7 separate regions of the Homo sapiens genome follow, and regions 1, 3, 4, 5, 6 and 7 are each linked to region 2. Evidence: promoter capture Hi-C in 16 types of primary human blood cells and fetal thymus (Javierre and others, 2016). All regions are on one chromosome and are shown on one strand. The core of a region is centred on a gene start or on the middle of the fragment in contact, and the rest is flanking DNA. Distances in the headings are between cores, read along the strand shown.

Region 1 (3,303 bases), core at 602-3,101, 390 kb before region 2:
GCTGGAATGCAGCGGTGCAATCTCAGCTTATTGCAAACTTCGCCTCCTGGGTTCAAGCGATTCTCATGCCTCAGCCTCTCAAGTAGATGGGACTACAGGCGTGCACGACCACACCCAGCTAATTTTTGTATTTTTTGTAGAGACGGGATTTCCCCACATTGGCCAGGCTGGTCTTGAGCTCCTTACCTCAAGCAATCTGCCCACCTTGGCCTCCCAAAGTGCTGGGAGTACAGGCTATGAGCCACCACGCCTGGCCCTTCTTTTTCTTTTTCTTTTTTAGGAACACACCCTAAAAATCAGATAACCTTAAATTTACATGTCTAAAGGAAAAAATAGGTAAATTTAAATCGGGTCTATTATGAATATCATTTAAAAGGTTATATTTCTTGTTAGCACAGCATAACCATATTTCTGATTTCTTTACAAATTGTTGGCTAGCTCCCAAGATGAATATTGCTAATTTCCTTACACTTAAGTTGACTCATAGTTTTCTCAAAGGCAGGTGAAACACAAAGCCTAAGCAAATAAGTGATGTCTTAAACACAATAATGCTAAAATACAGGTATCTAAAAATAAAGCCACTGATTATTTAAATAAAATTATAAAACAATATATTCTCAACATAAACATTTAGTAATCTCATTTTCAGAATATATTTTATTAGACTGATATATTAATACACTTTTGATGCCATAGTTAATACTAAATAAAAGTCATAAGTAATATATAGCACTTTTAACTACTTTTCCTATTCCTGTTTCTAGAAGACAGTTATACCATTTTCAAGCCTATATAACTGAGTTTACTTGCTTCCTTTTCTTTGACTTAGAAAGTGCAACACAGAAGTGAAAAAGGGACCATATCTAAATAAAAACTCAAATGCTAAAAATATAAGATATGCTTTAAAAACATTTAGACAAGTCGACTGTTAAATCACACAACGGAACGTTACCAGCTGATTTAAAACATAAAAATCATAAAGAAAAAAGTCTCTCAAGTGAAAGCAAAACATTTAATTAACTTCTAAAACCCAGCAGTAAGAGAAACAAAAACATCCAGATAAAGTAATGTAAAATTTAACCATTATGTCTAATTCACCAAAAAATCCTTTCTCTTCTTTTTCTTCTTTTATTCTTCCCCCTAAAATTCCAAATCAAAAGGTAAACAACCAAAAGCAAGAACTTTTTAAAATACACAAACCAAATAATTAGGGTCTGGATAAATCAAACATTGATTTTATTTTGAAAGTCAGCACTTGAGAAAAACCTTTGCATTTTACACATCTCCTAAGTTTCAAATAGTTTTTAATTAAAAATTATACCATATGTAGAAAAGAAAAAAATACCTTCAGTTGAGGTTTTTCTTCATGTTTTGTAGAATTATCATCTGCATACTGAGGAACCAAAACAAATTCTTCACTGTTCATTGTAGCCACAGAATCAGATGATCCACTAACCTTCTGTAATGAAGCTCTGACCTCCATTTCAGTTCTGCAAACTTCTCTTCCCACAACCACCTGGAAAAACAAAAGGGATTAAAAAAAAAAACCTACTGATTAAAAACATGAACTAATTAAAAACATGAACTAATAAAGCTTTAAAAATGGTTTATGTGAAGAAGAATCCTGCTGGCTAGATAATTATCTCAAAGTTAGGGAGGCTACCTTCTTGGACTGAGCCACTTAATGGAAATGTACTCTCTCTTCATCCTAAGTTTCCAGACTAATAGAGCCATATTGTTACCTAAAAATTTACACAAACCAGTCCATATCTCAACCAGATTTATCACTGTTTACCTGACACACTCACTCTCATTTCTCTTAGAAATACTGTTTTCTTTTTAATAGAGGAAATAATTAAATGATACTAGAAATACCTACAAATGCACACACAGACACAAAACCATATTCACTGACACTGCTATATTAATTAAATCTAAATGCTTCAAAAAAAAACTTATCTCCTCAAGACCGAATATTGTACCTGCAAATATTTTTTCTGAGTAACTAAAGTTGACTAATACAGAATTCAACATCCTAAGACATATAGCTTCTCTTTCCTGACACATTATCACTTATTAACACCAAAAAGAAAAAGAAAAAAGCTTCTATATTGCCTTCACGTAGCAAATAATGTTTCAGTAATCAAACACAGTGTAATTCTGTTTTCTGGATAGATCTCTACAGCATAGAAACAACACTCACTATCATATCCAGAAGTTCATGTACTCACACAACTAAGTTTAACTGCAGACATACACTATATAACAGACACAACTCAGCCCTGAGGTTACCTAAGTGAATAAGGAAAACAAGTAGCCTGCACTTCTGGGGCTTACATACTAGTAAGAAAACAAATAAAAAGGGAGCAAATGGTGATTCCAAGTCACTCTAAAGGCTATGCAAACAATAAACACGTTAATGTGACAAACAGTAGCTATGGGAAGTATACGGACAAATTAAGGTGGTAGGAAAAAGCTCTCTGAGAGGAAAATATCTGAGCCTAAACCTGAAAGACAAAAAAGAACCCTACTATTACACAATCTGCTCAGTGACCAAATGAGTAATGTGATAGAGGGGCAGGACAAGCAGGCTAGGGCTAAAGAACACGGGACCTTGTAAGCCATAGTAAGTCTACTGATCCATGCCTAAAATCCCCCCAGAAATGTTATTTTTCTTTCTAATTAGGTTACCTTTTCATTATAGCCTATAAGTATAGCTGCAATATTCCATTTTGCCATTAGGTGACACTAACACCATTACTCTTGGCAATAAAAAGAATGAGTCTAGCTTCAAGTTACATGTGTATCTTTTAAAAAGTAATTACTTTCCAACTTTATAAAAAATCAAAAATTTCAAGAATATCAAAATAAAGAATAACCATACTCCTGGACCAGTGTAATTAGCTAGCCATCATTTATTTCTGTTATGCATGTTAACACCCTTCCTTTTTAAAACCCAAGCGACATTCATCTGTCCTCTGAAGGTTTTTTTCTCACTTTGTATATTTTGTTTCTAAAAATGCAGAATGTGTTACAAGCCAGGTCTTTACTCTTCCAGACTGCACGATGAATCCTTAACTGCCAACACACCACATATTCCAGATGTCTTTCTGTGGTCAATCCTTCAAGTCCTTCTCAGGTTGCTGCTCCTCTACCTGATTTCTAAATGTTAGAAATTCCCTGAGTTCAGATCCTGACCTTTTCCCTTGTCACACACTCTAAGTAATGTCTGTCATTGTCATGGACGAAAATACCATCTGCAGGCTAACAGTCTTCCAAATTTCTATCCCAACTCAAATACCT
Region 2 (3,663 bases), core at 973-3,472:
GAGTTGCAAAACGTTTTATTCTTCGGACTGGTTGTAAATTAGTAAAGGTTTGGAATTGCCCTGGGAAAACCACCACCATGCATTCTTAGACTGTCTTTCTCAATTTACCTTCGGTACTGAATCCATCCACACAAGGTGACTTCTTGGCCTAAGTGAGACGAACGCAACTCTCCACATGTGTTGGTCCGGACAACAAAGCTACTGAATTCTTTAAAAAAAAAAAAAAAAAGAAACTTTAAAAGGCAAGATTAAAAATACATCACTTGCAGGTTGCTTAAAAATGAAAATTCTCAAAATATATCTTAGGTATGTCAGGGCTACAGGGGAAATTTATAAAATAAAATAAGTCAGAGTATGTAATTTAATTCATTCACTATTAAATTTACCTGCAAATGTGTCAAAAGCCAAGTGAATAACTGAATGTAAATTTCTGTCTTGTGTTAGGAAATCAAAATTTTTTTGATCTTCTAGCATTTGCATTGACCTAAAATCCTAATTACCCAATTCTTAATATTGCACATTTCTTCCTCAAATGAAATAGGATTTTAGAAACTGCAGAAATGGACGGTGTAGGAACTATTTAGCTTTAGTATGAATCTAGTGTTTAACAGCCACTTGTACACTAGAAAACACTATTATAATTCTGTGAAAAATGATTTTTTTTTTTTTTTGAGATGGAGTCTCGCTCTGTCGCCCAGGCTGGAGTGCAGTGGCGCGATCTCGGCTCACTGCAAGCTCCGCCTCCGAGGTTCACGCCATTCTCCTGCCTCGGCCTCCCCAGCAGCGGGGACTACAGGCGCCCGCCACCACGCCCGGCTAATTTTTTTTTTATTTTTAGTAGAGACGGGGTTTCACCGTGTTAGCCAGGATGGTCTCGATCTCCTGACCTCGTGATCCGCCCTCCTCGACCTCCCAAAGTGCTGGGATTAACGACGTGAGCCACCGCGCCCGGCCGAAGAAGGATTTTTTTAAGGCATCAACCAAAAGCAGAGTATTCTATATATTACGTGGTTACCTTTTTGTGGTCTTTCTAAAAACTCAGGGAAAAAAAACTGCCGTATAATGAATATAATGAGAGTGAATTTCGCTTCTACACATAAGGCTATCCAGTTAAGAACAGGGGAAAAGCCGGGCGCGGTGGCTCACGCCTGTAATCCCAGCACTATGGGAGGCGGAGGCGGGTGGATCACGAGGTCAGGAGATCGAGACCATCCTGGCTAACACAGTGAAACCCCGGCTCTACCAAAAATACAGAAAAATTAGCCGGGCGTGGTCGCGGGCGCCTGTAGTCCCAGCTACTCGGGAGGCTGAGGCAGGAGAATGGCGTGAACCCGGGAGGCGGAGCTTGCAGTGAGCGGAGATCGCGCCACTTCACTCTAGCCTGGGCAGCAGAGCGAGACTCCGTCTCAAATAATAATAATAATAATAATAATAATAATAATAATGGGGGAAAAAATGAAAAATGGAATAAAAGCTCTCCGGCCGTAGATAACAGGCTGAAGTACTGTTCATAGGATAGATCTCTTCGCTATTTTCACCTGGAATTCTCCTCTGTGAACTCTGCAACAGACTTCTGTAGAGAGAACCCCAGATCGGTTGGGTGGTCCTTCTGATGGGTCTGGATAAACCCCTGTACAGCTGACTTAACCAAGAAGGGAAGTACATGTTGGAGCCACACGATGGCGAAAAACAATCACGAAATCCCACGCTGCCGGTAGTTAAAAGTCAGTTTTGGAAATACACAGAAATCCCTTAAAATTCCAGGAGTTCCCACTCTCTTCTCGAATATTTAAGGCCTCCTCCGCACAACATTGGAGTACACGTGTCTAGAAACAAGACAAATCTCCAAGGTCTCTGGGGTGCTTGCTGGGGTGGAGATAAGGGAAAGACCTCTCCCTGAGTCTTAAAGCATCAGTCTGCACTTCTACTCAACAAGTCGGCAGCCAAAAGTGACGACGAGAGAGCGACTCCACGTAGCGGCGCCAGGCGCGAGCCCAAGACAACCAGAGGCGGTCACAAGGTATACGCCCTTCTCCTCTTTCCACGCTTCTCGAGAGGCTCCCGCGGCCAGAACCGGAAAACAAGGAGTAACAGTCGCGTTTCAAATCTCGCAGACCTGCTGGCCGATTTCGAGTCTTCTGAAAGAGGAAGGCGAGCAAAGCCAAAATTCTCCCAGAGCGCGAACCCAAACACAGATCGCCGCTGGGGTCCAAGCGCCCTTCAACTCCGCCCGCTAGTGCCCAAGATTACCGGGAAGGAATTCAACGAATCAGTGGTGAGGTGCCGCCGCCATGCCTACTACGGGCGGAAATTTGAGAGAAAGCTTCGCACCGGTAGGAAAACTGAGGAGCAACCGAGCACGATTGGAAAGGTTGACGATAGTGGTTAAGTGGCTCGGCCTTGCCCTCAGTTAAAATGGCAATTTTAGTTGCTTCACTGATACGGAATCGGCGAGGCGCCAAGGAGGCTTCCTGCGTGGGGCCGCAGAGCGAGTCGGGAAACGATTTTAAACTGAAGAGGCGGCGGAGGGCCGAATTCCCTTTTCTCAACGGCTTGATTTCAGAGCTGGGCTGGTCTCTGACAGGCTCAGCTGGAGAGGGACGGGTTGGGACGCACTGTCCTTTTGCCCTTCCCCCTCCGCGAGCAGAAGCTGACTCCGCAGGAGCGAGGGTCGCAGAGCTGGGTGAGCGGAAATGTCCCTCCCAGAGTGAAGTCGCAGGGCCCGCCCCGCGTCTGAGGGAGCGGAGGTCTTCCTGGGTGCGTTTGTGTCTCTTGTGAACCCACTTGTGGAGCGAGAGGGAATTTGGGAGGGCCAGGGGTTAGTCTGGCCTCTGTCTTAGCTGTCATTTTGGCGGTTTTTTTTTTTTTTCTTCAGGGGATTTCAGTCTCCACATAGTTTTGGAGCCGGACTTTTGAAGAATGATTCGTGAATCCGGAATGGGTGACAGCGTCATCACGGCATTTTATTGGTAAAGATGCTTTGTATTGGTCCCGGACCTGCTTTAACTTTGTATTTGCCCTGTTGTGTGGTCATTATCTTACAATACTTGCGTGTTGAGGTGTGTTTAAACACTACGTGCTTAACACTGGCTAAGTATTGGCATTGGGGCGGTTGGATTTAGGTATTGGTGGCAATGTAGAAAAGTGATCAAGTCAGAGCCCCTTCACGGACTAATCACAAGAGAAACAACAAAGCTTTACTTGTGTGCTGTGAACCACAACTGCAAGTGGAATTGTCAAGAGAACTAGCCCTGCCAAGCTCAGGAAAACTTCTGAGGAGATGGCACATGGAAAATGGATAAGATTTACTGAGACAAACGGGAGTAGAGAAGTGTTTTTAATTGGCGATAAGGTGAATAAAAAGGCAGGGAGAACAGTAGAGTGATCATCTGTCTAGAGTAGGGGGTGCATGTTTGGGTATAGGGCTGTCATTTAACCTCTTAAAGAATTGTCTACTGGAACTTTCTTCACTCCCATCCCCCCACCCCCCAATGTTGTATACAAAACCTTAGAGGAAGTGTATGCAGAATGTTGGATTTTGGAAAGGCTAATGTCGATGGATCTTGGGGAAGAACTGAAGTAGTAGAAAATGAACCTGGATAGGATCAGATAATAAGATCAAATACAGTAGTGCCTTGAAAGCCAGACAGGAATTCTGATTTG
Region 3 (3,622 bases), core at 1,059-3,558, 350 kb after region 2:
TTATTAATGAATATTTGTGACCTGTTACACATAGTGGGCATGAGGACTACGTTGTACAAAGTATTAGAGAAACATTGGGTCGCCTTCCTGCAGCCACAACAGCAAAGTTTCTTGTTTGTCCACAGCTGGGAGTAAAAGAGCAAGATGTCTCTAGTTATACAGTCATGTGATACAACATTGGACCACATATACTACGGTGGTCTCATAAGATGATAATGGAGCTGAAAAATTCCTTTCGCATAGTGATGTCTTGAGGATCCTGACCCTGTGAAGCCCTAGGCTAATGTGTGCATTTATGTCTTTGTTTTTAAGTTTAAAAAGTTTCAAAAGACAATAACCTTTTAGAATTATAAAAAAGCTTATAGAATAAGAATATAAAAAAGAAAATACAGTATTTTGTATAGCTATACAATGTGTTTGTGTTTTAAGCTAAGTGTTATTACAGAAGAGTCAAAACATTAAAACAATTTTAAAGTTTATAAAGTAAAAAAGTTATAGTAAGGTAAGGTTAATTTGTTATTGAAGAAAGAAATTTTTACACATGAATTTAGTGTAGCCTAAGTGTACAGTGTTTATAAAGTCTACAGTACATTCATTCACCACTCACTCACTGTCTCACCCATGGCAACTTCCAGTCCTGCAAGCTATATTCATGGTAAATGCCCTATATAGGTGTACCATTTTTTATCCTTTTTTTTTTCATTTTTTTTTTTTAAGACAGGGCCTTGCTCTGTCACCCAGGCTGGAGTGCAGTGGTGTGATCATAGCTCACTGCAGCCTCAAGCTCCTGGGCTCAAGCAGTCCTCTCACTTCAGCCTCCTGAGTAGCTGGGACTACAGGCACATGCCACCATACCTGGGCAATTGTTTTATTTTTGGTAGAGACGGGGTCTTCCTAACCTGTGTTGCCCAGGCTGGTCTGAAATTCCTGGGCTTAAGTAGTCCTCCCACCTTAGCCTCCCAAAGGGCTGGGATTACAGGCTTGAGCCATATTTACCATGGTGTTATAATTGCCTACAGTATTCAGTATAGTAATGTGCTGTGCAGGTTTGAGGCGTAGGAGCAATAAGCTATACCATGTAGCCTAGGTATGTAGTAGACTATACCATCTAGGTTTGTGTAAGTGCACTCCATAATGTTCACACAATGACAAAATTGCCTAATGACACATTTCTCAGAACATATCCCCATCGTTAAGTGATGCATGACTGTAATTAGAGCTAGGTAAAAATCCCTGTACCAATGGGAGGAGACATATAAAACTAAAATTAATGTTAGGATGGTGAGATTGTGTTTTTTTTCAACTCTATAAACTTTCTTGTTAGATTTGATTGTCTTTTCAGAAATAAAGAAAGCTTGGGCACAGTAACCTGTACATATCATTAAGGCAGTCCTGTCAACCTTCAGTGAGTGGGGCTGATAATCTCTCCACTGCTTTTCTTTATCATCGTAATAGTTCGTTTTCATGATGCTGGTAAAGATATACCTGAAACTGGGTGATTTATACAGGAAAGAGGTTTAATGGACTTATAGTTCCACATGGCTGGGGAGGCCTCACAATCATGGCAGAAGGCAAGGAGGAGCAAGTCACATCTTATGTTGATGGTGGCAGGCAAAAAGAGAGCTTGTGCAGGAAACTCTCATTTTTAAAACCATCAGATCTCGTGAGACTCATTCAGTATCATGAGAACAGTGCAGGAAAGACCTGCTTCCATGATTCAGTCACCTCCCATTGGGTTCCTTCCATCACGTGTGGAATTGTGGGAGTTACAATTCAAGATGAGATTTGGGTGGGGATACAGCCAACCCATATCATTCTGCCCCTGGCCCCTCCCAAATCTCATGTCCTCACATTTCAAACCAATCATGCCTTCCTAACAGTTCCCCAAAGTCTTAACTAATTTCAGCATTAACTCAGAAGTCCCCAGTTTAAATTCTCATCCAAAACAAGGCAAGTCCCTTCTGCCTATGAGCCTGTAAAGTCAAAAGCAAGTTACTTCCTAGATACAATGGGGTTACAGGCATTGGGTAAATACCGCCATTCCAAATGGGAGAAATTGGCCAAAACAAAGGGGTTATAGGCCCCATGCAAGTCCAAAATCCAGCAGGGCAGTCAAACTTAAAGCTCCAAAATTATCTCCTTTGACTCCATGTCTTGCATCTGGGTCATGCTGATGCAAGAGGTGGGTTCCCATGGTCTTGGGCAGCTCCACCCTTGTGGCTCTGCATGGTACAGCTTCCCACTTGGCTCCTTTCACAGGCTGGTGTTGAGTGTCTGTGGCTTTTCCAGGCACACGGTACAAGCTGTTGGTGGATCTACCACTCTGGGGTCTGGAGGATGGTGGCCCTCTTCTCACAGCTCCACTAGGCAGTGCCCCAGTAGGGACTCTATGTGGGGGATCTGACCCCACATTTCCTTTCTGCACTACCCTAGCAGAGGTTCTCCATGACAGCCCTGGCCCTGCAGCAAACTTCTGCCTGGATATCCAGGCATTTCCATACATCCTCTGAAATCTAGGCAGAGGTGCTCAAACCTCAATTCTTGACTTTTGTGTGCCTACAGGCTCAACACCATGTGGAAGCTGCCAAGGCTTGGGGCTTGCACCCTCTGAAGCCATGGCCCAAGCTGTATATTGGCCCCTTTTAGTCATGGCTAAAAGAAGCAGCTGGAACACAGGGCATCAAGTGCCCAGACTGCACACAGCATGGGGACCCTGGGCCTGGCCCCTGAAACCGTTTTTTCCTCCTAGGCCCCCAGGCCTGTGATGGGAGGGGCTGCCGTGAAGACTTCTGACATGCCCTGCAGACATTTTCCCCATTGTCTTGGGTATTAACATTTGGCTTCTTGTTATTTATGCACATTTCTGCAGCCAGATCGAATTTCTCCTAAGAAAACGGGATTTTCTTTTTTATTACATTGTCAGGCTGCAAATTTTCTGAACTGTTATGCTCTGCTTCCCTTATGAAACTGAATGCCTTTAACAGCATCCAAGTCACCTCTTGAATGCTTTGCTGCTTAGAAATTTCTTCTGCCAGATACCCTAAATCATCTCTGTCAAGTTCAAAGTTCCACAAATATCTTAGGCAGGGGCAAAAAGCTGCCAGCCTCTTGGCTAAAACATAACAGGAGTCACCATTTCTCTAATTCCCGACAAGCTCCTCATCTCCATCTGAGACCACCTCAGCCTGGATTTCATTGTCCATATCATGATCAGCATTTTGGTCAAAGGCATTCAACAAGTCTCTAGGGAGTTCCAAGCTTTCCCATATTTTCCCGTCTTCTTCTGAGCCCTCCAAACTGTTCCAACCTCTGCCTGTTAGTCAGTTCCAAAGTTGATTCCACATTTTTGGGTATCTCTTCAGCAGTGCCCCACTCTACTGGTGCCAGTTTACTGTATTAGTTCATTTTCACACTGCTGATAAAGACATACCTGATACTGGGTAATTTATATGGGAAAGATGTTTAATGGACTTACAGTTCCACATGGCTGGGGAGGCCTCACAATCATGGTGGAAGGCAAGGAGGAGCAAGTCACATCTTACGTGGATGGTGGCAGGCAAAAAGAAAGCTTGTTCAGGGAAACTCCCATTTTTAAAGCCATCAGGTCTTGTGAGACTCATTC
Region 4 (3,523 bases), core at 10-2,509, 390 kb after region 2:
AGCTGATAAATATATGTGGTCAAAGAAGTACACTTTAAATCTACAGTGAGATACTTTTTAATCAGCTCAAATTTTCAGGGGGACCCATTCAGTCTTATATGATGCTGGTGGAAGTGGAAATTTCCTGGAGCAGTGTGTATTAAGAGCCATAAAAATGCTATTTCCTTGAAGTTAACAAGAAACTTGCTAGACCTGTATGAAGGATGCCAACTTAAAACAATTTATAAAATGTATTTATTTATTTTTTTCATGTTGTATAGGTTTTAATGTTTTTGAAACAAAATTAACCCATGGTAGACTTTGGTGGACAATGTGAGTCTTCTACCTAGATACTCTCTAATTTAGTCAGGGTTTAATTAAAGAAATAGAAGTACTAGGATAAAAATGTATTTGTTTTTACTGGGGGACATACCATGTTTCTGAATGGAAAGATTCAGTTTTGTAGGTATACAAATTTTCCCAAATTAATATTTAAGTTTAGTGCAATTCCAATAAAAAATTCTAGTGGGATTTTATTGGGGAGGGGCAGGTGTGATGGGAATTGATGATGTGATTTTAATTTTTCTTTTATGTTCTGAGTAAAACATTTTCTTGGGGTGCAGAAAATTTTATGATGGAAGAATAAGAAAACTAAGAATATTTTGAATAGGAACAATAAGTAGGAAAAATGTTTGCAATGGGATATTAATATGTATTATAAACCCACAGAATCTGAAGACAAGAGTGATGGACTGTATATAGATGGAACAGAATAGAGTGACCACATATGAACCCTAGTGTATGTGGGAATTTAGCATGTGATAAAAATGAAGAAAAATACAGTGAGGCAAAAGGTGGTTTTGGGTCAATTGAGAATCAGTTTGGGAAAAAGTAACAATAGATTTTTACCTAAAAGAGTACAAGAAAACAAATTCCAAATGGAATTAGTTAAATGTGGGAGAAGGACACTAAAAAACTTGAAAATAAAGATGAATGCCTATATAATTTTGTAGTGAGAAAGACCTTTGTAAGTACAGAAAAGCTGTAAAGGAAAAGACTGATAGAACTGGTTATATAATAACTTAAAGCTACAAACTAAATTAATAAGCAAATAATTAATAATAAGCTATTTACAACAAAAAAATTAACAAAGTTAAAGTACTTAAAAAAGAAAAAGCCGAGAGACCTTGTCTGGCCACCCTCAGGTTGGGTAATTCACAAGAATGACACACAGTACTCAGGAAAGCAGTTTTATTATGCTTACAATTTTATTATAGCAAAAGGACACAGATAATAAAATCAGCAGAGGGAAGCGACATAGGGCAGAGCCTGGAGGGGTCCATGCACAGGGCTTCCCATCTTCCTCTCTCTACAGAGTCATGGATTGTGTTACCTCCTGGTTACGATGTGTGACAATACATACAGAATACTGCCAACCAGTGATGCTCACCTGAGCCTTTGATGTCCAGAGGGTCAAAGCCCTCACCATAAATCACATCTCTAGACTGGTGGCCAAAGCCCTCAGGCCAACAAAGATACTCATAACACGCTGGGCATTCCAGGGGCCTAGAGATCACCTCCCGGTAGCCAAAAGCCCTAAGTTAATTCTTCACTACACAGAAACCTATCATTTTATCCCTATCAAGTTGACAAAGTGTACCAGATGCCATCAGCGCTGGGACACATTTCTGGACATTTCAGCGCTCCCCATTAGATTTCTAAGGGCAGTATTTGCAACTCCATGCCTGAGGGCTTAAAAAAAAATGCTGAAGGCCCTGTGCCCTTTTCCTTAAGTAGCCCTCACTTGGCAGTGGCTCACACCTGTAATCCCAGCACTTTGGGAGGACAAGGCAGGTGGATCATGAGGTCAGGAATTCAAGACCAGCCTGGCCAAGATGGTGAAACCCCACCTCTACTAAAAATACAAAAATTAGCCAGGTGTGGTGGCAGGTGCCTGTAATCCCAGCTACACAGGAGGCTGAGGCAGGAGAGTTGCTTGAACCCGGGAGGGAGAGGTTGCAGTGAGCCAAGATCATGCCACTGCACTCCAGCCTAGGTGACAGAGTAAGACTCCGTCTCAAAACAAAACAAAACAAAATGGTAGCCCTCACTTAATGACTTTTGGAGTTGTCATGTAAGACCTTAGCCCTTTAGGTGGGATAATGCTGGGGCATTTTGTATTATTTCCCAGAGTTTCTCTGCAAGATTAAGTTCCAGTTGCCCACTGTGATAGGTGGCTTAGTAATGCACCCTTTATTGGCTGCCTTCGCTTCTGGTTACTTCTTACCCATATCCATCCCTCTGTATTTCTGTATTACTCAGATAAACTGCCTGCACTTGAATCCTTGTCTCAGTGTCTGCTTCTGGGAGATAACAAACTAAGACATAAAATTTAAAATGAAATTCAGAGGTGGCATGAGTACATGGAAATAGATGTTCTTCTCTGCTCCTTTGTGGAGTGTAAATTGGTTCAACCTTTTTGGTGGATACTTGGGAAATATTTATCAAGTAGCTTTAAAATATGCATAGTCTTTAACTTAGTAATTCTACTTCTGAGAATGTTTCCTGAGAAATAGCTATGGATGTGTACTAGGTTTTCTTTTCTGTTTTCTAAACAATAAACTACTTTGAAAATGAGGAAAGGACACTAAATGACATTCATGGGTAAAGCTTTTATGTCTCATTATATTAAAGGTAGGATGCAACAAATAATTGACTACAGTTTTTCTTTCATAAGCAACTATTAATCTTTAAAAAACTTTCCTCAGAGGTAGATTAACTTTTATTGAATATAGCTGTTAATAAGAAATTTTAAATTGATTGCATACTGTATTAGTTGGCTTGGGCTGCCATAACAAAATACCATAGACAAGGTGTTTTAAACAACAGAAATAGAAATTTATTTTTTCACAGGTTTGGATGCTGACAGGTTCAAGATCAAGGTATTGGCCAGTTAGTTCCTAGTGAGGGCTCCTTCCTGCCTTGTAGATGTGTGCTCATGCGGCAGGGAGAGAGAGTAAGCTCGCTGGTGTCTCCTCTTATAAGGACACTAATCCTATTTCATTGGGGTCTACCTTTATGATCCCATTTAACATCAGTTACATCCTTACACCAAATACAGCCACACTGGGGGTTAGGAGTGCAACACATGAACTTTGGGAGGACACAATTCAGTCCAGAGCGTAAACTAATAAATAGCTCAGTTATTTAGTAAGTTTTAGAATGTTCTTATTTGCTCCTTTTGTTCTTTTCCAGCTCTCTGGGTCATATCTATTGATGAGTATCTCTAGTAGGTAAAGCCTGTCTCCCATCACTTTCTGGGTCCATCTATATAGGGGTTTTTGATGCCATTGTCCAAAAGACTTGGCTTTACTGCTTACCAGCAAGATAGGATCAGGACTATCAGATATGGTCATGAGTGACCACGAAGCTGAGAGTTGCAGCAGTCCCCTCAGCCTTCCATTGGTTGCCCCTGTCCTGTTTTCATGGGCCAGCTCATAGGTGGAACCTCAGTATTATTCATGCCCAGCACTCCAGTTTTTCA
Region 5 (3,444 bases), core at 339-2,838, 410 kb after region 2:
GTAACATAACTGTAACTGGTGCATAGTAAAAAACAAATGGATATTATTAGTATAATAGTTGTTATTAATAAAGGTCTTTAAATGACAATTGGCCATACAGGAGCCTTTGGGGAAAAGTTTCTGACTCTAAATTAAGGGAAGGTAAATTATGATCAAGATCTGGGAATAAGATTTAGACTTACACAGTAATAATTTGAGGAAGAGAAAGACTTAGTAAATTAGTTATGTAATTACATAATTAACAACTTGGGAGGTTTTCTTTACACGTTTATTCCCTAGGGCATCATCTTTAAATTATATTTAGTTTTTGCTAAGTTGACCAGTTTGTGGTTTTAAGTGTTTACTTTCTTTTCTTTTGAAATGTAGGGAAAGCATATTTGACATCATCTTAAAGAAATTATGTAGCCATATAAAACCGGAGGGTAGGGTCTACTGGCCAGGAAAAAAAAAGGCCTTTACTGCCACCTGGTGGCCATATTCTTTAACTGCAATGTGCCTAAGTGAGGCTGGAAAGGAAAGCGTTGGAAAACATGCTAAACCCAGAGGGCACCAAGGCCGCGTCATGACAGTAAGAGCCGTCAAGTACTGTGTCCTTTCCCTCAGTTCTCAATCTCTCACAGCTTGAGGCTTGAGAATTAGCAGCTGGCTACGAGAGGTGGAGGAGAGAAAATGGTGAAGTCCATGCCTTCCTCCTTGGTACCGAGTTTCCAAACCTGAAGTGAAGGAGTCTGAGAGGGGAGAAGCTTCAGGTTGAGTAGACTGTTTTTTACTTTTTTTTTTGTTTGTTTGTTTTAAAGAGCCTCTTTATTTAATGGCTCAGAGTGGCTAGAAAATCCGTGGTATTGGTTAGCTTTCATCTCAAGTGCAGGGACAAGGCAAATCCAGAGAGAGGAGTTGAAAGGACAAAGAAAAAAGAAAAAAAATTGCTTTTTACGTGCATTTTGCTGCATGCAGCTCACTCAATAAACATGCGTTAAATGCATAAATATATCATGAGGTAAAAATCGGGGGAAAGGTGATGCATTGATGCTGATAGAGGACAGGCAAACTGCATTCCATTTGGACCGCAGCCTCTCATCCCCCCCCCCGCCACACAAACTAAGGTCAAAATCAGGGAGGGAGTCCAGGGTAAAGTTATCAGTAGAGTCAGCTCTAGGAGCTATAGTTAATCTATTTTAAAAAATCTTAAAAAACCCATAAGTCCATTATAGCAGGGACATAAAGCAGTCCTAGCCTCCTGACCCTGACCCAGCCATGGCAATCAGGGCTGCTTCCTTTTATTCTCCCTTGTGTCCTCATGGGTCTTTCCAAGCCCTGCAGGGAAGGGTGGAAGCTGGTTCCATCAGTGCCTCTCCCCCAGCTTCCACCCTCCTCTCTCTTCTGTGACCTCTCAGTTTTCCTTCTCTGTACCCCAAATCATGCCTGTCTTAGTCCATTGCTGTAACAGAATTCTACAGACTGGATCATTTATAAAGACAAGAAATTTATTGCTTATAGTTCTGGAGGCTGGGAAGTCCAAGCACATGGTGCTGGCATTTGGTGAAGGCCTTCTTGCTGCATCCTCACGTGGCAGAGGGCATCACATGGCAAGTGGGCAAGAGCAGGCTTGTCCGCTTGGGTTACTCTAACTCTTCTTTTTTTTTTTTTTTTCTGAGACGGAGTCTTGCTCTGTCACCCAGGCTGGAGTGCAGTGGTGTGATCTCAGCTCCCTGCAAGCTCCGCCTCCCAGGTTCAGGCCACTCTCCTGCCTCAGCCTCCCAAGTAGCTGGGACTACAGGTGCCCGCCACCACACCCGGCTAATTTTTTTGTATTTTTTTGGTAGAGATGGGGTTTCACCGTGTTAGCCAGGATGGTCTCGATCTCCTGACCTCGTGATCTGCCCGCCTTGGCCTCCCAAAGTGCTGGGATTACAGGCGTGAGCCACAGCACCCGGCCAGGTTACTCTAACTCTTCTTATAAAGCCACCAGCCCCACCGTGGGGGCCACACACTCATGGCCTTATTTAATCTTAATTACCTCTCAAAGGCCCTACCTCCAAATGTCATCGATATGTGAATTTGGGAATTAAGTTTCCAGCACATGAAATTTGGGGGTCACATTCAAACCATAGCAATGCTTAACCTTAGAATACTGCCTGGCATCTGCCCAGGCTTCCACAGCCACTACCTCTGGGACATGTTGGGATCTCTGTTTACATGTAAGGCTCGCCATGACCATTACACATCTGTGAGTCAGTGTAGGGTCCTGGTGGAAGCCCGGTCTTGGAGTCCCTCCATTATGTTTGCTACCCTGGCTCTCCACCTTCAATTTCTGGCTTCTCATTTTGGACTATGATGATTTTCTTGTTGTTAATTTTTTTTTTTTTTTTAGTATGAAAGTTTTCAAGACGCCTACAAGTGGAAAATGCACTCCTCCCAGCCAAATCAAGCTTCGCCAGATTCCTTACAGCTGTGTGCAGTGAAATGACTAATGAAAGAGCCCTCTGCTGCTGGTGGAACTTTCACATATGGCACTGTTATGCCACTCAGCAGGACCCGACCCTGGTATTTACATATTGGATGTCACCCCAAAAGCCCCTGACCAGGGGGTTTCCGGGATGTAATAAGAATGCCACTCTGGGCTTTGGAAGGTGCACCGTATGCACACCCATACTATAGGGCAGGGGTTAGCATTTCAGACCCCTGTTCCTCCCTTGACAAGCAAGTGCTTTTCTCCAGGGAAGACGTTCAGGTTCATTCATAGATCCATTGGTGCCGTGGGCAGCTCAGTAACAATAGCTCTGCTGCCTACCAGCTGCTGGTGGAGGTGTTGAGAATACCTAATGAGGAAGTCAGGGCCCCTGCGTGCTTCAGCAGAGCTGGATGCCTGGCATGGCAATCAATGGACACAAACCTTTGGATAATTTCCGTCCTTGGCGGTGTGTTCTATAGCATAGGTATGAAGTGGGTGCTCTGGGAGCTCAGAAGAGGGGCTCTTCTCTTAACTTATGGGTGGCCAGGGAAGGCTTCCTGGAGCTCAAATGACTGAGTGGAGTCTTCAACATTAAAAAAAAAAAAAAGAAAAAAAAAGTGCTTCCCTCCCACCCCCAGTTAAAAAGGTAATACACCTCATTGAAATAATTTAAACTTTACAGAAATGTGTTCCTTTAAAGTTCAGAGAGTAAAGAGGAAGTAATAAAGCTGAAATAGTAGAATTTCTAATTAACTGGAGCCTGTAGCTTTCTTCCTGAAAAGGGAGTGGTGTGTGTGCATGTGTGAGTGTGTGTAGGTGAATCTGTAAAGGATGGAGTAGTACTAAAAAGAGGGAGGTGAAGACGGAGGTGAGATCTCATCTTTGTGCCCTGAACCTCTTTGTTATAATGTCAGGCAATGAGAGAAATCAGTACTCACCCTCTATGGGACTCTGGCTTTTTCAAACTTGGTTTTCTAGGTTTTGGTCTTGGT
Region 6 (3,811 bases), core at 439-2,938, 370 kb after region 2:
GTCTGCTGGAGTCCTTTCTCTCTTTCTAAGTTTCCTCCTTGTTTACCTTTCCTTTCATCTTAAGAGTGATAGCTGTAGTCTGAGGTTGCCACCTCTATTACACCATACAATTCTCTTTTATCCTTTTTAGTGGTTAACCACCTTTTTACCAAGTTAACAGTTCTTCATGATTATACTTTCTTTATTTGAATTACTGTGTGGTTTCTGTCTCTTGACCGGACACTGGACTCTTAACGGCAGTAGTGATCACTGCAAGGACTGTAGCATAGGATGGATATTTCTGAGTGTAGTGGAGTGCTTACAGACAGAAGATGAAAAGCTCAGGTCCTTAAGCTCTTGGTTTAGTTCTCGGTCTGAGAACTAGAGGACTTCCATGGCAGCCCTAACAGGATCTTTTATGTCTTGTAGCCACAGGGTTGGTATTGTTAAAAATTAAACACAAAATTTAATTTTACAGGTTGCAGAACTACAACATCAGTAATTTTCTTGGGAAATTAATGCCAAGTTTCTCATGTGAAAGTTAGGTCATTGATTGGGAAGGAGACCCCAAAACTTGAAATGGGCACATATGGTTGGTCTCAAGTGAGAGTGAGAATCTTGAACCCCTGAGTTGCTCTGAGTCTCCCTTGCCAGTGGGAGTATCTTGCTCTTGTGTATCTGCAGAATTTTTTTCTCCCCTCAAAAACCCTGTAATTGCCTCTCCTGGAGCAAATACTTCACAAACAAGAGGATGCTCACTCTCCTCGGAGCCTACCTGAAACACCCGTTACTGCTGCTAGACCCATAACTAGGGTCAATTGTCATCATATTCCAGTGGTGTGGAAGTGGCAGCCAGTCTGTGAATATAACTCTGGCCCTGAGTCCCAAGTTTGCCCCTTATTCCAAAGAGTCACTGTTTGCTATGCAGAGGAAGTATGGGCCAAGATAACCTCACCAAACACCGGGTTCCAGATTCTCAAGCAGTCCCTTTCAACACCATGGTTTCAAAAAGTAAATTTGAGAGGTAATTTTAAGGCTCTTACATAGAAGAATTCTCCCCAAAGAAACATATCTATGGTGATTATTGTTCAATTCTGGACCTCTCAGCATTGTTTCCTTGCTTTGTCACTTATAAAATAAATATACTTCTAGCTTTCTGGCTGTATGGGTGATACATGGCATAGAAATCTTGGGTGGGAGAAATGGGGTGTCTGGCAGGGACAGCCCCTTTCTCTGAGATTTGTTCTCCTGAGCTTTCTGAGTGCTGAGTCATTTTTAGCAAATGGCTGCATTTTAGCTGTTGAAAAAGAAGATCTCTCTTCCAAGGAGAAGGAATGTGGGCTTGTCCTAGTCTTTAGATACTGAGCTCAAGTGTCCCTAAACTAAATTGTTTCATTTTACAGAGGGCTAGACAATTAAAGTATATAAACAGAGTATTTACATGTGTTATATAGTCAGTAACGCTGTTTCCCAAGAGTCCCCATGGGCAGATAGGTTTATTTTACAATTAACAATCACAACCCTTTGTGAAGTTTTGATTGGCAGATTAGAAGCCCAGAATTTACTCTTACACCTCTGGGGTTTTTGTGTGCCCACTTAGGTATGAAGTCAGTTCTTGTCAGTAAGCACTCAGCTTTCATTTCCATCTCATTAGCTGAGAGTACAATCCCACTGAAAACTCAACTGTGGCTTGAGGCCTAATGGGCACCTGTTAATTTTCCTCTGTTCCATAGTCCCATCTCTCAGATCAACAACCTGATCATAAAGGTAGGTGATAAAGGTAGTTACTCATAAAGATGTGTAACTAATTCACAGAGAAGCATCTCTAGTGGAGGATAAACAATTGAAAGTACATAATTCTGGCCAGGCACAGTGGCTTATGCCTGTCATCTCAGCACTTCGGGCGGCTGAGGTGGGTGGATCACCTGAGGTCAGGAGTTTGAGACCAGCCTGGCCAACATGGTGAAACCTCATCCCTATTAAAAAAAAATACAAAAAGTAGCTGGGCATGGTGGTGGGCACCTGTAATCCCAGCTACTTGAGAGGCTGAGGCGGGAGAATCGCTTGAACCCTGGAGGTGGAGGTTGTAGTGAGCCGAGATTGTGCCATTGCACTCCAGCCTGGGTGACAAGAGTGAGACTCTGTCTCAAAAAAAAAAAATTTAATTAGAAAAAACAAAGTACATAATTTTGTTTGGAGGCGCTGAGAAGAGATGATATTGGTGTTGCCTTTTTATATAAAGTTAGGTATTTAATATTTAAGACAATTTACAAAGTTAAACTTTGTGCAAGGTGCTGGTATAAAGCATTGATGAGTTTATAGTGTGATGTTCTTTTCCCTGACTTCTTTTCCTATATTTGCTCATTTGTCATTCCATTTTCTCTAAACATTTCTTCTTTACTATTTTTTCTCTTACATTATTTAAGTGTGTTACAAAAATAATTGTTGTCTATTGAGATTCAGCTATCCCAAAGCAGGAAGATATGGATTTTGAGTACTTCTTATAGCCATGGTGGGCTGCACTCCTGCATTTTGCCTTTGCCACTAACAGCACCTGCTTATGGGACAGTTAGAGGCATGGGAGTAGTAGAAGCAATGCTAGGTGCCCTACCGAGATCAATTCCATAATGTTAGACACTAAGCTGTAGCCATCTGCCCCTTCGAAGTCTATCTTTGTCTTGCTCCAGCATTAATTAGTACAATTCCTACTTCTCTCTGAAACAATTTTAGTTTTAGGTCATTCTCTCTGCCTAGCTACCTTGCCCATATGAAGTCTGGAAAATTTCGTTACGCAGAGGTGTGCCACCCAGAAGAAAATGGTTCGGAGTGGCTCCATTAAGCATAATCTGAAAACATAAAGCCATGTATTTACGATTAGTCTAGAATGAACTCTTGAGGGTTGGGGACTCTGGCTTTGTATTTTCTTGTGGCTGCCTAGCACATTATGTTTTACTTGCCCAATAAGTCTGTTAATGCTTACTTAATAAATACCAACAGCCATGAATAAAAACTAAGAAGCTAGACTGGGTATTTCAATAGTCAGGTGGACAAATTCTGTGAGAACAAACAAGTAAGAGTGACTACCTTATTCACCTTCCTTTCCAAGCTGGGGTTTGTTTTTTTATTCCAGCCTTGTAACCTAACCTGGTATCAGAAACTGTTGATCCAAGGAGGAAAAATGCTGAAAACAAGGCCAGAGATGAGAGATATCTACACCTCAGGCTGTTTCGTAACAGGTGTTTAGTAAAGACATCACTTTTAGTTTATATTGGCTCATACTCTGCAGAGCAAGTGGAACGAGACAAATCTGGGAACCTGGGCTCAGTGCCACAGTTATACTCAGAGACCTGCTGCCACTTCCAGGCTGCTGGAACATGTTGAAATTGGACTCTAGTTATGGGTCTAGTGGCAATAAGAAGTGTTTGGGGTAGATTTTGAGGAGAGTGGGCATCCTCTCTTTTGTGAGGCATCAGCTCCAGGTGAGGCAATTACAGGGTTTTCAAGGGGGTAAAAAAAGAAAAGACTTCTTAAAAGACACGGAAGGGCAAGATAGTTTCTTTTTCTACAAGTTTATTAGCTTTAGACTTTATAGTCTATGATCCATTTTGAGTTCATTTTGTATAAGGTGTGACATATAGTTTAGGCTTATTCTTCATATGTATGTATGTGTGTATGTATGCATGTATTGTGTGTATATGTATGTATGAATTTATGTGCATCTGAATGTCCAAATGTTCCAGTATCATTTGTTAAAAATACCATAATTTCTCCACTGAATTCCTTTTACATCTTTAAAGAAATCAATTGACCATAAATACAAAGGTTTATTTCT
Region 7 (3,333 bases), core at 636-3,135, 420 kb after region 2:
ACCCGCCACCACACCCAGCTAATTTTTGTATTTTTAGTAGAGATGGGGTTTCACCATCTTGGCCAGGCTTGTCTTGAACTCCTGACCTCGTGATCCACCTGCCTTGGCCTCCCAAAGTGCTGGGATTACAGGCGTGAGCCACCGCGCCCAGCTGAAAACGCTTGAAAGACTACTCAGTTGAAAGACTACTCAGGGTTTTGTTTGATGATACCATTTCAAATCTCAATTGTTACGTATGTAGATCTGTCAGAAAATGTCAGTGTGGAATTGATTGTCCTCTGTTCCCTGCACTTACATAAAGCATGGGGAGGTAAATTATCCTACAAATTAGGGAGCTTCTAGAAAAGACCCAGACACTTACATTGGCGAACTCCTTTATGTTGCAAAGCTCCTGGAGCATAAAAATGCATCTATGTGTTTGGGCCTTGATGGTCTCTGCTGGCTAGCAGTAGCATCAGGCTGCTAGATAACAGATGGCATTTCTAGGGTGAAAAAATGGCCAGATGATGCCAGACAAGCACTCAGGTATCCTTTGGCCTAGTCTGGAGTGTTACTCAAAGTGTGGTCCATGGACCAGCAGCCTCAGTTATCACCTGAAAACTTGTTAGCAATGCAAATTCTTGGGCCAGGTGTGGTGGCTCATGCCTGTAATCCTGGCACTTTGGGAGGCTGAGGCTGGAGGGTCACTTGAGCACAGGAGTTTGAGATTAGCCTGGGCAACATAGGGAGATACCATCTCTACAAAAAATAAAAAATTAGCTGGGTATCGTGGTGAGCACCTGTGGTCCCAGCTACTCAGGCAGCTGAGGTTGGAGGATCACTTGAGCCTGGGAGGTTGAGGCTGTGGTGAGCCGTGATTGTGCCACTGCACTCCAGCCTGGATGCAGAGTGAGACCCTGTCTCAAAAAGAAAAAAAAAAAATGCAAATTCTCAGGCCTCACCTCAGACTCCCTGAATCAGAAACTCTGGGTATGAGGCTCAGGAGCCTACAAGCCCTCCAGGGGATTGTTTGAAAGCCACTGGCTACTTTTCTGTCCTTACAGATTTCTGGCCCAAACTCACCCTTCTCTGCCATGTGCCTAAGCTATATGATGGGGTCATCAAGGAGCTTCATTTGCTGAACATGGTGATGACCTTGAAGCAGGATTGATGAGAAATAGTGCTCTGGGGAAAGGTGAGATTTGTACCCCTTTTCCAGTTGGCTTAATACGTTCCATCTGACTGATGAAGGTGGGATACATGTCAGTGCAGAGCATGGCCCAGGGCATATTACAAAATTAGGTCAGGTGTGGAAATAAAGGGAACTTCAAAATCTGAAATTATTACCTCTGGTTGGGTTTTGGTTGTGGCAGGATGTATACACAAGCTGGGCTGTGACAGCAACAGTATGGAGTCCCAGAAGCTCTACTGTGGTTTGTGAAGGCTGAGATTTGAAAAATCCTCTTGCAAGGCACAGAAGGCCAATTAATAGTAGGTGAAGTGGCTTCTCCAAGGTCCTATGGCAAATCAGCCTATGGTAAGTACAGGTATTATTATTTCTGCCTCTCAGGATTGCAGATGTGTTGTACCTTTGGCTGAGGTGTGGGAAGAATAACTTAGGAATGCATCTTTGACCTAGGGTAAAAGAATAGACATTTATTTGCCCACAACCTGCTCCCAATAGAAAGTTTCTGAGCATAAAAAAAGAAGCTTAGGATTTGAGGCCAATGGTTAAAAATATCATTGTAAAGAAGCCATGAATTTTGAAGACATATTAACAACACAAGTGCAAATGGAAAATACGAAACTGACAGAGAGCTCTAGCTGGCACAAACTTTACACTGGCCACATAACAAGGCAAAAATAAGGATGATCTAATGTCTGACAAACCATTGCCCATATAAGATAGGACATTAGCAGCATTTTTCAACAAATGGACTTGTTATTAATGACAAGCCTTTCCCAAATATATAGTTGTATTAACCTGAGTTCTCCAGACATATATGTATATGTGTGTGTATATGTATGTATATGGGTGTGTGTGTGTGTGTTGTGTATGTGTGTGGAATTGACTTATGTGACTGTGGAGGCTGAGAAGCTTCATGATCTGCTGTCTGCTAGCTTGAGATACAGGAAAGCCAGTGGTGTAGTTCAGTCTGAGTCTTGAGGCCTAAGAAGTTGGGGAGATGATGGTGTAAGTCTCAGACCAAGGGCAGGAGAAAACAGATGTTTCAACTCAAGTGGCCAGGCAGAAGGAGTGAGTTCTTCCTTTTTCCACCTTTAGGTTTTTTCATGTCCTCAACAGACTGGGTGATATCAGTCCTCATTGGGGAGGACAGTCTGTAGATCCAAACACCCATTTCATCTGTAAACACCTTGACAGACACACTCACAAATAATCTTTGGCCAAATATCTGAGCTTCTGTGATCCAGCCAAGTTGACACATAAAATTAACCATCACAAGTCCACCCCTTGCCAACTTGATACTCATACGTGCCTCCTGAAACCATACTTAACCTCCAAATAAAGATGATAACAAGTTCATAATTCCACATGATATTACTATCCTGTAGACAACAAAATGTATAACCTTTTTCCCAGAAGAGGAGTTAAAGCACTTGAGTGAGGTTTACCCTTCTTGAAATCTTATAACTTAAACACTACGATGTAAAATTAACAAAACTTAAATACTACGATTAAACAATACATTTTATGTTATATAATAAGGGAGTAAGAGAGGAAAGAAAGCAAATATATATGTATATATATATATGCACACACACAATTGTATTCATAACAAAATAAGGAGGAAATAATCATGACAATTAGAGTCCTTGTTTCTGTAAGTAGTCATGTGGTCATTGCTGGCATTTATAACTACTTTCTATCACTACTTATTCGTATTGCCTTTGCCTTCAGCAAGTTTCTCAGTTGGTTGTGATTCTTTTCCTGGTGAAGTGACCCCAACTTCATTAGTGAGGCATCTGGGCCATTAGTAGTTCTGTCTGGATTGTGCTGTAGTTTTCCACTGACCTAATCACAGGGCAGAGTAATAGTAAGAGATGCCCCCAGGGATCTCCTGTATGAGAGATATACTCTTCCTTACTCCATTGTGAGTAGTAGTTCATTTTCCCTTGGGAGTAAAGATCAATCACCCCAGTCAGCAAAGGAACTCCTTTTTTTTGTCTGTTGATTCAGAGGCATGAAGAGCCCAAAGTGGCCAGGTGGCAGTTTTAATTTCCAATTCAATGGAACCATTGTTGTTCATTGTCTCCTGGTTGAAGCATTTCTCCTTTTGAAATTAAGACCTCTAGGCAGGCAGAACATAAAGTTGAAGGAACAGGAAGGAAACA

What was found. The method cuts DNA at HindIII sites, captures the fragments that hold promoters and counts their contacts. A CHiCAGO score of 5 or more calls a contact.
Region 1: a fragment that was not itself captured here is called in contact with the fragment with the promoter of DARS2 in region 2 in 1 of 17 cell types (fetal thymus); the score reaches 7.2 in fetal thymus.
Region 3: a contact is called between a fragment that was not itself captured here and the fragment with the promoter of DARS2 in region 2, in 3 of 17 cell types (fetal thymus, megakaryocytes and monocytes). The highest score is 5.8, in fetal thymus.
Region 4: a contact is called between a fragment that was not itself captured here and the fragment with the promoter of DARS2 in region 2, in 17 of 17 cell types (megakaryocytes, total CD8 T cells, naive CD4 T cells and 14 more). The highest score is 31.7, in megakaryocytes.
Region 5: a fragment that was not itself captured here is called in contact with the fragment with the promoter of DARS2 in region 2 in 17 of 17 cell types (total CD8 T cells, megakaryocytes, naive CD4 T cells and 14 more); the score reaches 53.6 in total CD8 T cells.
Region 6: a contact is called between a fragment that was not itself captured here and the fragment with the promoter of DARS2 in region 2, in 6 of 17 cell types (naive CD8 T cells, naive CD4 T cells, megakaryocytes and 3 more). The highest score is 8.1, in naive CD8 T cells.
Region 7: a contact is called between a fragment that was not itself captured here and the fragment with the promoter of DARS2 in region 2, in 1 of 17 cell types (total CD8 T cells). The highest score is 5.4, in total CD8 T cells.

What each region holds. Positions count from the first base shown.
Region 1 is chr1:174,217,338-174,220,640 of GRCh38, reverse strand. RABGAP1L (RAB GTPase activating protein 1 like) reads right to left here. Exons shown (of 26, transcript NM_001366446.1): 2 at 1,346-1,516. The coding sequence starts at 1,483. Among named protein-coding and RNA genes, the nearest start is that of RABGAP1L, 59 kb to the right of the region's middle. RefSeq lists a silencer at 37-156. The HindIII fragment of the contact is 509 bases long and covers 1,597-2,105 here.
Region 2 is chr1:173,823,232-173,826,894 of GRCh38, reverse strand. DARS2 (aspartyl-tRNA synthetase 2, mitochondrial) reads right to left here and starts at 2,222. Exons shown (of 17, transcript NM_018122.5): 1 at 1,539-2,222; 2 at 109-208. The coding sequence starts at 1,665. CENPL (centromere protein L) reads left to right here and starts at 2,012. Exons shown (of 6, transcript NM_001387287.1): 1 at 2,012-2,683; 2 at 2,876-2,969. RefSeq lists enhancers at 327-840, 1,482-1,999, 1,706-2,265, 2,000-2,518, 2,496-2,735. The HindIII fragment of the contact is 2,471 bases long and covers 1-2,325 here.
Region 3 is chr1:173,469,927-173,473,548 of GRCh38, reverse strand. The region is part of intron 1 of LOC100506023 (a long non-coding RNA gene); the gene reads left to right. Among named protein-coding and RNA genes, the nearest start is that of PRDX6, 5.6 kb to the left of the region's middle. The HindIII fragment of the contact is 1,904 bases long and covers 1,357-3,260 here.
Region 4 is chr1:173,434,963-173,438,485 of GRCh38, reverse strand. All of the region lies in intron 1 of PRDX6-AS1 (PRDX6 antisense RNA 1), which reads left to right. All of the region lies in intron 2 of LOC100506023 (a long non-coding RNA gene), which reads left to right. It also overlaps a transcript of TNFSF4 not described here. Among named protein-coding and RNA genes, the nearest start is that of PRDX6-AS1, 25 kb to the left of the region's middle. The HindIII fragment of the contact is 2,784 bases long and covers 1-2,651 here.
Region 5 is chr1:173,417,550-173,420,993 of GRCh38, reverse strand. It overlaps PRDX6-AS1 (PRDX6 antisense RNA 1), which reads left to right. Exons shown (of 2, transcript NR_125960.1): 2 at 2,372-3,205. All of the region lies in intron 2 of LOC100506023 (a long non-coding RNA gene), which reads left to right. It also overlaps a transcript of TNFSF4 not described here. Among named protein-coding and RNA genes, the nearest start is that of PRDX6-AS1, 42 kb to the left of the region's middle. RefSeq lists enhancers at 615-714, 2,473-2,812. The HindIII fragment of the contact is 1,686 bases long and covers 746-2,431 here.
Region 6 is chr1:173,451,594-173,455,404 of GRCh38, reverse strand. All of the region lies in intron 1 of PRDX6-AS1 (PRDX6 antisense RNA 1), which reads left to right. All of the region lies in intron 2 of LOC100506023 (a long non-coding RNA gene), which reads left to right. Among named protein-coding and RNA genes, the nearest start is that of PRDX6-AS1, 7.9 kb to the left of the region's middle. The HindIII fragment of the contact is 5,329 bases long and covers 1-3,811 here.
Region 7 is chr1:173,400,442-173,403,774 of GRCh38, reverse strand. All of the region lies in intron 2 of LOC100506023 (a long non-coding RNA gene), which reads left to right. It also overlaps a transcript of TNFSF4 not described here. Among named protein-coding and RNA genes, the nearest start is that of PRDX6-AS1, 59 kb to the left of the region's middle. The HindIII fragment of the contact is 388 bases long and covers 1,692-2,079 here.